3 separate regions of the Homo sapiens genome follow, and all the other regions are linked to region 1. Evidence: promoter capture Hi-C in 16 types of primary human blood cells and fetal thymus (Javierre and others, 2016). All regions are on one chromosome and are shown on one strand. Each heading gives the region's core, a stretch centred on a gene start or on the middle of the fragment in contact. The rest is flanking DNA. Distances are from core to core; before and after follow the strand shown. Region 1 has its middle 20 kb from the start of ZNF267. Region 2 holds the start of RUSF1 (RUS family member 1). Region 3 holds the start of ITGAD (integrin subunit alpha D).

Region 1 (3,977 bases), core at 721-3,220:
GCTGATCTGACAGGAGGTAGAGCTCAGCTTCACTGGCTCACCTGCCACTCACCTCCTGCTGAGCTTCCTGGTTCCTAACAAGCCAGGGGTGGGTATTGGTCTGTGACCCGACGGTTGGGGACCCCTGGTCTAAAGTACAGTTTAAATCTGATGTTTCATTATTGATTTTCTGTCTAGGTAATCTTCCAGGGCTTGTCTAGTGGTGATGAATTTCTTCAGTTTTTGCTTGTCTGGGAACGTCTTTATTTCTCCTTCATTATGAGGTATAACCTTGCTTAGGCTGTGTTTGCTAGTTGAGGCTGTGGTGAGGTTTTGGTAGGAATGGAACACCAGATAGGCCAGTCCTTCAGCCCCCATGGTGACAGTGGCAGCAGTAAAGGGTTGAGGGTGTCTGTCCTTGGGCTGCTGGGTAGTGTATGTGGGCACTGGTGTTAGTGTGCCTAAGCCTGTTGATTCTCAGGCCTTCAGGAGGCTTGCTCTGATGTCTGTAGTAACAGCAGTGGGCTAGGAAATGGGGCAAGTCCTCAGGCCTCTGAGCAGTGTGTACCGTGTGGATGAGGAGAGTAGTGGGGTTGAGGCAACTTCAGGCTTCCAGGCAGCACTCACAGTGTTTGTGGTGGCTGCAATGGGCTGAATCAGACAGTCCCTAGAGCCTTAGGTGACACATGAGTGTGGATGCTGGTGGTTGTCTGGGTGGGCCCATCCTTAGGACCCCAAGAGTACCCAGATGACAGCAGTGGTGGATGGCATGGGAGATTCCTAGACCTTTAGACAGCATGCTTGAGTGCTGGCTGCACATTTTCTTGGCCTGTTTTTAGGACCCTGGTGGACTCATGCCAGAGGCTACCACCTGTACAATGCTGTCCTCAGGTCCACAAGTGGAATATTTGACCACTAAGGGTGGGAGAGAGGCAGGTGAGGTGGGCCTGTTCTCAAGTCCTCCTAGTGATGCACATGAGCATAGGCTGTGGGCAGGGCAGGGGAAGTCCCAGACCTCTGGAGCTCATGCTAGGGCACCAGTGATGGCAGGCCTTCTGGAGCTGTTATTAGGCCCCTGGGAGATGGGTGCACCAAAATCTCAGAAATCGCCACTAAAGAATTTATTCATGTGCAAATAAATAAATAAATAAATAAATTCACTTACACTGTCTTATAATTATGTAATTAGTTTTGCTAGTGTGTGCTTTGTCTTTCTTATGCATTCAAATTATTGTCTGGATTTACTTGCTTTCAGCCTGAAAAACTTCTTTTGCCATTTTTTCATAAGGTCAGTTGGCTAGCAACAAATTGTATCAGTTTTTATTTACATAAAATGTTTTTATTTAACCTTCATTTTTAATAGCTAGTTTTTGTGGGTATAGGGTTCTTATTAGGCAGGCTTTTTCTGTGAGCATCAGACAAAATAATTTATAAAGAAGTAATTGAAAAGCTTCAGAGAAGGAAAATAAATCAAGACCTAAGGACACTGACTGGATTGAGCACCAACGTCATAGTGATGGCAGCTGGGTTTAAGATGACAGGGAGAATTGTCACTGAAGACAGTAGAAGTCTGGGGATCAAGTGGTCCTGACTGCAGCTGAATGGAAAGTTTATTTTGTATTTTATTTTATTTTAATTTTTGAGACAGAATCTCGCTCTGTTGCCCAGCCTAGAGTGCAGTGGCCCGATCTCAGCTCACTGCAACCTCTGCCTCCTGGGTTTGAGTGATTCTTCTGCCTCAGCTTCCTGAATAGCTGGGATTCCAGGTGCCTGCCATGATGCCTGGCTAATTTCCGTGTTTTTAGTAGAGACGGGGTTTCACCGTATTGGCCAGCTGGTCTCAAACTCCTGACCTGAAGTGATCCGCCTGCCTTGGCCTCCCAAAGGGCTGGGATTGCAGGCATGAGCCACCGTGCCCGGCCTGGAGAGTTTATTTGTTAGAGCCTCAGATATGGCACATGAGAGGTACACCAGCATGAACTCAAACATATTCAGAACTGGTGCCTTGGGGGAAAATCTATAGATTAAGTGCATGAGAAGTCACCACTTCAGTATCAGATGATGTTTGATTAAGAAAGTGTAACTCCAAATGTGGCAATCATGATCAAGGTTAAAGTTAGCACTAGTTATAACATAGGTGTGGTTGGTGGTGTCTCAGAAGCAAATAAAAGTTGTCAGTTGCTAAGAATGTGTTAATCATTTTATTCCACATGCTCTCATGCTGACTGTGTAGTTAAACATCCCTGTAAGTAGAAACAACTTCACTGTAAGCGCTATGTAAGCCTGGTGCAGGGGGCATTTTCTTCATTCCCAAAAAAGTTTTACATAGACTACCTGTAATATTGAAACGTAGGGACAACTGGGGACCATGTGTGAAGGCCCCCAGAAATTTCTTCAGTTAGCAAGGATGTTTGGTAAAGCAACACAGAAATTAAACAAAGTTTGAAACTATAGTTATTGCTTCTACTTTATTGGCAATAACTGAGACCAGACAACCCTCCTGGGCAAAATTACCTAAGAAAACAAGCTTGCACACGTTAAAGTTTGAAACCCATCTGTCCTACACTGATCTTTTCCAGGAATTAAATGTGTTCAGTTTTTCCTTTTGTTGCTCCCCTTTCCAATAATCTCGAGGCCAGGGCTGTCCTGCTTCTACAGGTGACATGACAGTTATGGGCCTGGAGGGAGACGAGCTGACAGTATCCCTTCTTTATAACCAAGTCTCAGGGACCACCATCCACACACACAGACTCACTCCAGGACTCCGCTGGGCAAATGGATGTTTCTCAGCTTTAGTAAAAGTGAGTGATCACGACTTACGTTGGTAGTGGCAGGAGGATTTTCTCAATGATGTAGATAACTCTCTCATAATTTTGTTCTTGTGTCTCACTGAATTATAACTATTTTCAGATAAAAATATAAATTTTAATATCATGAGCACATAAATTTACAGATGTTCGAAAGGATATTTGTAATTTTGTAATGGTATATGTTATAGGTAAGACGTTTATTTAGAAACAGAATGCTTGTTTTTCGGTCATGTAAGGAAAAATTAGCATTTAGACAAAAAGGTTTTTTTAGCAAGGAAATTTTACTTTCTGCAGAAAGGGTGCTCCTTGCAGATGGAACAATGGCAAGAGCACATTTGAACAAGGGAGGGAAGCAATTTTTATTTTTTATGTAGCTTGTCCCTGCTCTTGTGTCCTGTTTTTATTGGCTGGAGACAGACTTCATAATTTAAATTAAAACCTGATTGGCTAATAACTTAAAATTTTTTAAACAGGTAAAAGCAATGGAAAGATAAATGAAAAGAGGAAGTTGTTTATGAAAGGACTTAGAAAAGTAATAACATTCCTAAATAAGGAAGTGACAGGCTGTGAGCTGGGACATGCCTGTGAGCACATCCAGGACAGGTATTTCCGTTAAGGCACAAGGACATAGAATGTACTATGTGCCTGTGAGCATGTTTAACAGCTACATAGGATAGGGCTTAAACAAAGAGTTATTAGCACAAAGTAAGGAGGCTTGAAAGAAATTAGTCTTTAAAAGAAACTATTATTTCTAACACTTATTTATCCTGTAACAAGAATGGAAACTTTGAAGAGGAAACTTTTTACTTTCTGCAATTCCTTCCTTTTGATTTTATAGCTTTTTTTCTTTAAAATTTTTTAACATGTTTTGGTTTAGCTGTTTTGCTTGAGTTTTTAAAAGAAAAAGTTTTTCTGGTTGGTGAAATGCCACGGTAAAAGGGATAGCCAATTGAACTAGAGCACAAATATTGCTTTAATTATTTGGCAGAGTGTTCAGTAAAGGTCTTCTACAATATTATTACATACCTGTTTGGTGATGAATAAGGGGGGATTGATGGGTCAGCTCTTGGAAGTGCCTGACTTCACTGCATTAAGTTTTCAAGGAACACTAAATTTTTCCCTTGTTGTTGGAGACACCAGGTAAAATTGGTCTTGGAAGATGGAGGCTAGATGGCCCTCGGGGGCTGA
Region 2 (3,738 bases), core at 651-3,150, 350 kb after region 1:
GGTGAATGCTTGTAACCCCAGCTACTCCGGAGGGTGAGGCAGGTGAATCACTTGAACCCAGGAGGTGGAGGTTGCAGTAAGCCAAGACTGTGCCACTGCACTCCAGCCTGGGTGACAGAGGGAGACTCCATCTCAAAAAAAAAAGTTTCCCTTGATTCCACTGATTAGCTCAATTCTCCTTCTAAAAGTCCTCATATTAAATAACATGTACCCCTCTACAGCAATTGAAATAGTTCCAACTTTGCATTTATTTGTATGATTTGATCAATATCCTTCCCTAATATAAGTTCCAAAAGACCAAGACCCTTGTTTGTTTTTGCTCACTATCCCAATGAGCACATAGGTAGCAACAGGTATTTGTAGAAGAAACTGGCAAACCATTGGTAAAAAAGAGATAACAAACACGGAGTTAATGACAACTGCACGGTTCAAGCGATTTTCTTGCCTCCGCCTCCCGGATAGCTGGGATTATGGCCACACCACCCCCACGCCCAGCTAATTTTTGTATTTTTAGTAGAGATGGGGTTTCAACATGTTGGCCAGGCTGGTCTTAAACTCCTGACCTCAAGTGATCCACCTGGCTCGACTTCCCAAAGTGCTGGAATTACAGGCGTGAGCCACCACGCCCAGCCCAAGGATCACTTTTGAGGCCAGGAGTTTGAGAGCAGCCTGGGCAACATAGGGAGGCCCTGCCTCTATTTAAATAAATATGTTTTTAAAGTACTTAGTCTTCAAACCTTGTTTTATTTTTGTCCTCTATTCAAACCAGTACCTGAATTTAGACAACATTACAGAAATGTTGTGATTAGGCCATTTGTATTTTGAAACCCGAAATTTAAAGAAAAAAAAAAAGAAAAGAAAAGAAGTGTTCAAGTTTATCTCAGTCAGAGAGAGACTGTGTTTGTGTGAGATAAGGCGAAGTGGGGTAGAAGGGCCTTCCAGGATTAAGTCCACGAGGAAGGTGACGGTTTGGGAGAATCTGAAGTTTCAAATAAGGAGTTGTCGGTTGGGATCAAACTGTGGGGATCCAAGAATGCCAGGCTAAGAAACCAGGATATTTTATTTTCTGATAAAAAGAGGATGCTTTTTTGGCAAATTTCTGCTTCGGAGTGAAGATGCTGCACTAGATGGGAAGGAGAAGAGGAGAAATGGAAAGAAGAAAAGGTGAGTTCCAAGGACAGAAACACTCCCTCTTTGGACTCCCCCCAATTTCATGGACTCTCTCCCGCAAAAAAACACACAAGAACTTCCTGCCTTGTTTCCTTGTTTTGTGACATCATTGCAATCTCTTGATTTTTTTCATCCCTCGGATTCCTTAGCATCCTTCAAAAGTAATGTTCCTGCAGTCTCGCAGAAGGCCGAAGGATGGAGAATTTCTAGTCCAGGCCAGGGACACTCAGAAGAGAGAAAAAAAAAAGAACAAAAAAAGACCCAAGCAGCTTCACAGGGCCTCATCTGGTCCAATTTCTTCTCATGATGCATTCATTCACTCATAAATATCTTTTGAGCACCTACTATGTGTTGGGTAGATCTAGGGATAAAATCAGGGTTAAAAATACAGTCGCTGGTCTCACAGCAAAAAAGGCACCTGAGGCCCAGAGAGGGCCACTGACTTGCCAAAAGTCACAAGCTAAAACTTCTGTGGCCGAACCGCGTCTCGAACACAACTGGCGGAGGCCCACGGCGCCTGCAGCCCAGCTGCAGAATGCTACAAAGCAACGGGGGCCGGTGCCGGGGCGTCCGAAGCAGCGCCGAGGCCGGAGAGAGCGACAGTCAGTTTCCTAACTGCGCGGCGGACGCCGAGGCCGGCGCCTGTTCTTGAAAGATGTCCCTCTGCAGCCGCGGTAGCCCAGCCGGAAGTGCCGCCTGCCACGTCCACCGTGCGGCAGGGGCGGGGCTGGGATCCAAAAGCTCGGCATGGCTGACGACGCGGGTTTGGAGACCCCGCTGTGTTCCGAGCAGTTCGGCTCCGGGGAGGCACGGGGCTGCCGCGCCGCCGCGGACGGGAGCCTGCAGTGGGAGGTCGGGGGCTGGCGCTGGTGGGGGCTCTCCAGGGCCTTCACGGTCAAACCTGAAGGACGAGATGCGGGCGAAGTGGGGGCTTCCGGGGCCCCCTCACCGCCCCTCTCCGGGCTCCAGGCCGTGTTCCTGCCTCAGGGCTTCCCTGATAGCGTCAGCCCGGACTACTTGCCCTACCAGCTGTGGGATTCCGTGCAGGTCAGCTCGGTCGTCTGGGGCAGAGGACAGTGCAGGCCACTCCTCCCTCCCCAATAATGGACGGGTGACTGAGACTCGGAGCCCGGGGGGCGGGGGGTCTGACATGCCTCATACACCAAGAACAAGAACAGATGAAGGCACTTAGACCGCCACGCTCCTACGCCCGCTTCTCACCCTACTTGTTTTCTTCTCCAGGCGTTTGCTTCCAGCCTCTCCGGCTCCCTAGCCACCCAGGCAGTCTTGCTGGGCATAGGGGTGGGGAACGCAAAAGCCACTGTTTCAGCTGCCACGGCCACCTGGCTCGTGAAAGGTGAGCTGCACCCCTGGAGCCTCACGTATTGCTGCTTTCAGCCCTGCTTTCGCTGGGCTCTTATGTGTATATATGTATGGACTCGTGCCCCATTAGGTAGAATTCAGGCAGGTCTCCCCAGTGATTAGAGTGGTGCTTTGTAACCCAGTCTTACTTCCCACATCTGGAAGACCCTCATCCCACTCACCAGCCTAGCAGCCGCACTCCATTCCCCACACAGACTTCTGAGTCTCAATCATCTGGATCCCAAATCCCGTCCCCTCCCCTTTATCCCTATTCTCTTTGTGGAAGATTGCATAAGAATGCAATTGATGGAATAAAACTGCCAGCTGCCCAGGATAGGGGAAATTGGTGAGCTCCAGAAAAAAAAGATATAGTTGGTCCTGAGAAGGAGAGAGGAGAGCCTGGAAAGAATGGAAGGTATTGTGTATGCTCTGGGATACCAGATGATGCTGTAAATAATAGAGTGACTATCTGCTGAATATGTACAGCTTTTAAAAAATTGTTTAAGGAAAAAAAATACAGTTTGGTACCATGCCACCCAGAGAGGGAAATAGAACAGAAAAGGGAAATTGTTACATGTTCTACACGAGGAGGCCCCATGGCTTTTGCCACTGTCCTTTGTCTTTCACTACTGCTCGCAGGGGATATTTATTAGGCTGGTGCAAAAGTAATTGCGGGGTTTCTTTGTCGTTATTGCCATTAAAGGTAATGGAAAACCCGCAATTACATTTGAGCCAACCTAATAGATCTAAGGAAAAGCGCTTTCCATTCGTAGCATCAGTCTGGCCACATCCCTTGTGAGCCTCTCTGGATTTTTTTGAGAAAACAGGAGCTTCCTGTTTACACCTTTACCATTAAGACTGAGAAAACTGGGCCGGGCACGGTGGCTCACGCCTTTAATCCTCGTACTTTGGGAGGCTGAGGCATCCTGGGCAACATAGGGAGACCCCCATCTCTATTTTTTTTTTTCCAGACTCGTAGTCTCACTGTCACCCAGGCTGGGATGCAGGAGTGCAGTGGCACAATCTCAGCTCACTGCAGCCTCCTCCTCCCGGGTTCAAGCGATTCTCCTGCCTCAGCTTCCCAAGTAGCTGGGATTACAGGCATGTGCCACCCTGCCCCGCTAATTTTTTGTATTTTTAGTAGAGACAGAGTTTCACCATGTTGGCCAGGCTGGTCTCGAACTCCTGACTTCGGGTGATCCATTC
Region 3 (3,543 bases), core at 641-3,140, 460 kb after region 1:
CCTCAGCCTCCCAAGTAGCTGGGATTACAGATGCCTGCCACCATGCCCGGCTAATTTTTTTTGCATTTTTAGTAGAGATGGGGTTTTGCTGTGTTGGCCAAACTGGTCTCAAACTCCTGGCCTCAGATGATCTGCCCGCCTCAGCCTCCCAAAGCGTTGGGATTATAGGCGTGAGCCATGGTGCCCAGCCCTGCCATCATTCTTTACTTGCAAAACACAAATGCACAGATAAAATTTTTAAGAATTGGCAAGACAGGGTGGCTCACACCTGTAATCCCAGCACTTTGGGAGGCCAAGGCAGGAGGATTGCTTGAGCCCAGGAGTTCAGCCAGTCTGGACAACATAGCAAGACTCCATCTCTGTAAAAAGTAAAACAAAACAAAACAAAAAACAGGCATGATGGCATGCACCTGTGGTCCCAGCTATTCAGGAGGCTGAGGTGAGAGGATCACTTGTGCCCGAGAGTTTGAGGCTGCAGTAAGCTGTGATTGCACCACTGCACTCCAGCCTGGGTAACAGAGCTGGAGTAAAAATAAAAATAAAAATAATCAGGAATTTCAAGAGGTCAAGGGCAGAACATTAAACTCCAAAGTTAATGAGTGTGGGCCCTGTGTGACCATACTGGCCCCAAGAAGTGGGCCCTGCCTGGGAGGCAGGTTCAAGGCTTCCCTCCCGAGGTAAGGTAGGGTCTTGTCTAGAGTTTTGTGGCCTTTCCTGGGATTGAGAATAATAGGTGCTGATGTCAGGGCCTCCAAGGAGCCAAGGGAAGACTTCTCACCCCTGCTGGCCTTCCTCCAGGACACCTCCCTGGGGTAACCCACGTGTACCCATCCACAGGACTTGATGTAGTGGAGGTTGGGGAAGGAGGGTGAGTGGGGCCTACCGAGATCCACCGAACTGCACCACGCTCTGCCCAAAGCCGCCTGCATCCTCCTGGAAGATCGTAGGCTCCTCCACATCCAGGTTGAATCCATGATAAGAAGCCAGGACTGAGGAATATTTGGTGGGCGGGGAGGCTGGGAGTTAAAGAAGCCCCAATCCCTAGGACCTCCCAGCCTCTTTTTCTTTTTTTTCTTTTTTTTTTTTTTTTTTTTGAGATGGAGTCTCGCTCTGTTGCTGAGGCTGGAGTGCAACGGCACGATCTCAGCTCACTGCAACTTCCGTCTCCTGGGTTCAAGCGATTCTCTTGCCTCAGCTTCCCAAGTAGCTGGGATTACAAGTGCACGCCACCATGCCCGGCTAATTTTTATATTTTTGGTAAAGATGGGGTTTCACCATGTTGGCCAGGCTGGTCACAAACTCCTGACCTCAGGGGATACGCCCATCTCGGCCTCCCAAAGTGCTGGGATTATAAGCATGAGCCACCGCACCCAGCCAAGCCTGATTTTTGATGGCACGTGAATGTGACTCTGATGCAGTTTTCAGCAGGGGGCCTCTTCCCTACGTGCAGTCAGGACTTGGGGGAAACAGGCCCAGGGAGGTGATGTCCAACCTTTCCCCCTCCCTGGTGGCTTCTGTGGCCTTCCACTCCCGGGGGAGGCTGGGGAGACCTCTGTCACCCACACCAGGGACTCCATGAGTGGGAGCAGGGAAGCCTGGGACAACATAGCCAGCTGGAGAGGTAGCTTAGTCGCCACCTGAGCACAGCCCCTGAGCCCCTCTTCATTCAGGTCACACTCTACTGACTCCGGGCCACTCGCACATGAAGCACTCCCCTGCCTCAGCTCCTCATAAGAGTGGTTGGAGCCGACCACCAGCCCCCAGCCTGCCCTCCCAGATGGAGTCCCCTCAGAACTCCTCCAAGCTTCTCCCCAGCACCCTGGCCCCACTTACCACTCAGAAGAAGCACAGTGCCGAAGGTCATCCCTGAGCAGCGCGTTGAGGGGAAGTGGAAGGTTGGGGACAGAGCACAGAAGGTGCTCACCCTCCCAGGGGGTAGTTAAAATAATGATTCAGGGCCTCCACACAGCAGGAAGAGGGGCACAGTGGGTAGGAGGGGCGTGGTTAATTATGGAACAGAAGTGGGGGCAGGGGCCAACAACACCCTGGGGAAAAACCCTCATTCTGTCCCCCTCCACAACCTGCAGGGACCTGGCTTCCTTCTCCCAGAAGACCACCCTCCCCCAGGCCTCAGGAGCCAGTTGGTACCCAGGGAGCCCCGTAGCTCTCTGAGGTCCCACAGGAGTGGAAGGACAGGAAGCAGAATGGCTGCAGAGGTCTTGGCATGTGGATGTGAGCCGGCAGAGAGGCAGGGAGAAGGGGAGCTAGGCCAGGGTGTGGTTTCAAAAAGCAGAGCCCCTCCAGAGGAGAATGGACACCCAAAATAATAAAGTCATGCCATGGGCTACTACTCAGCAAGAAATAAGATCAAACTACAGATCAGATGCCATGGCTCATGCCTGTGGTCCCAGAGCTTGGCAGGTGGATTGCTTGAGGCCAACAGTTCGAGACCAGCCTAGGCAACATAGCCAGACCCTGTCTTTACAATAAATAACAAAGAACAAACTGCAGTTCTGTACAACAATACAGGTTAACTCAATTTTATCTTAAGTGAAAGAAACCAGACACCAGAATGCCTAATGTCTGGTTCCTTTCATATACAAGAGAATGGGCAAAATTCATCTACGAAGATAGAAATCAGAAGAGTGGTTGTCTATGGTGGGGCAGAGAGGAAACTTTTTTTTTTTTTGACAAGTTTTGCTATGTCGCCCATGCTGGAATGCAGTGGCATGATCAGGGCTCACTGCAGCCTCAAATTCCCAGACTCAAGCAATTCTCCCACCTCAGCCTCCCAGTCACTGGGATTACTGATGCACACCACCATGCCCAGCTAATTTTTTTGTTTTTTGTAGAGACGAGATCGCACTATGTTGCCCATGCTGGTCTCGAGCTCCTGGACTCAAGCAATCCTCCCACCTCCTCCTCCCAAAGTACTGGGATTACAGGCGTGAGCCACCACATCCAGCCAGGAACCTTTAGCATGTGTTAAATTTAGCATTTAACACAATATTTTAATATTTATTACATGGGGTTGGGGAGAAGATAAATGAGTGGTTGTTATTTATTTTCTGTGATTTTTCTGTATGTTTGAAATATTCCATGATTAAACATAAAAGTTCCTTTAAAATGTGAAAAAGAAAAAGGTCTATATATAAAAGGCTAGGAATAGGCCAGGCGCAGTGGCTCACACCTATAATCCCAGCACTTTGAGAGGCTGAGGTGGATGGATCACCTGAGGTCAGGAGTTTGAGACCAGCTCTGGCCAATATGGTGAAACCCCGTCTCTACTAAAAATACAAAAATTAGCTGGGCATGGTGGTGCGCACCTGTAATCCCAGCTACTCAGGAGGCTGAGGCAGGAGAATCGCTTGAACCCAGGAGGTAGAGTTTGCAGTGAGTCAAGATTGCGCCACTGCACTCCAGCCTGGGCGACAGAGCAAGACTGTCTCAATAAATAAAAAATAAAAAATAAATAAAAAGCTTAGGAATATACTTTGAAGGTTAAAATATAACAAGATCCCTACCTATAACATAAATTATTTT

Evidence for each region. Contacts are between HindIII fragments. The CHiCAGO score rates a contact against its expected background, and 5 or more counts as called.
Region 2: a contact is called between the fragment with the promoter of RUSF1 here and a fragment that was not itself captured in region 1, in 6 of 17 cell types (M0 macrophages, neutrophils, M2 macrophages and 3 more). The highest score is 7.5, in M0 macrophages.
Region 3: the fragment with the promoter of ITGAD here is called in contact with a fragment that was not itself captured in region 1 in 1 of 17 cell types (erythroblasts); the score reaches 5.7 in erythroblasts.

The regions. Positions count from the first base shown.
Region 1 is chr16:31,851,652-31,855,628 of GRCh38, reverse strand. No RefSeq gene overlaps it. Among named protein-coding and RNA genes, the nearest start is that of ZNF267, 20 kb to the left of the region's middle. The HindIII fragment of the contact is 1,077 bases long and covers 1,432-2,508 here.
Region 2 is chr16:31,506,553-31,510,290 of GRCh38, reverse strand. RUSF1 (RUS family member 1) reads left to right here and starts at 1,900. Exons shown (of 13, transcript NM_022744.4): 1 at 1,900-2,217; 2 at 2,413-2,527. The coding sequence starts at 1,918. It overlaps RUSF1-DT (RUSF1 divergent transcript), which reads right to left and starts at 1,827. Exons shown (of 2, transcript NR_186401.1): 1 at 1,255-1,827; 2 at 725-1,118. RefSeq lists enhancers at 1,350-1,919, 1,484-2,198, 2,199-2,914 and silencers at 2,020-2,069, 2,130-2,189. The HindIII fragment of the contact is 29,640 bases long and covers 1-3,738 here.
Region 3 is chr16:31,391,682-31,395,224 of GRCh38, reverse strand. It overlaps ITGAD (integrin subunit alpha D), which reads right to left and starts at 1,890. Exons shown (of 30, transcript NM_005353.3): 1 at 1,834-1,890; 2 at 884-989. The coding sequence starts at 1,864. The HindIII fragment of the contact is 1,676 bases long and covers 1,807-3,482 here.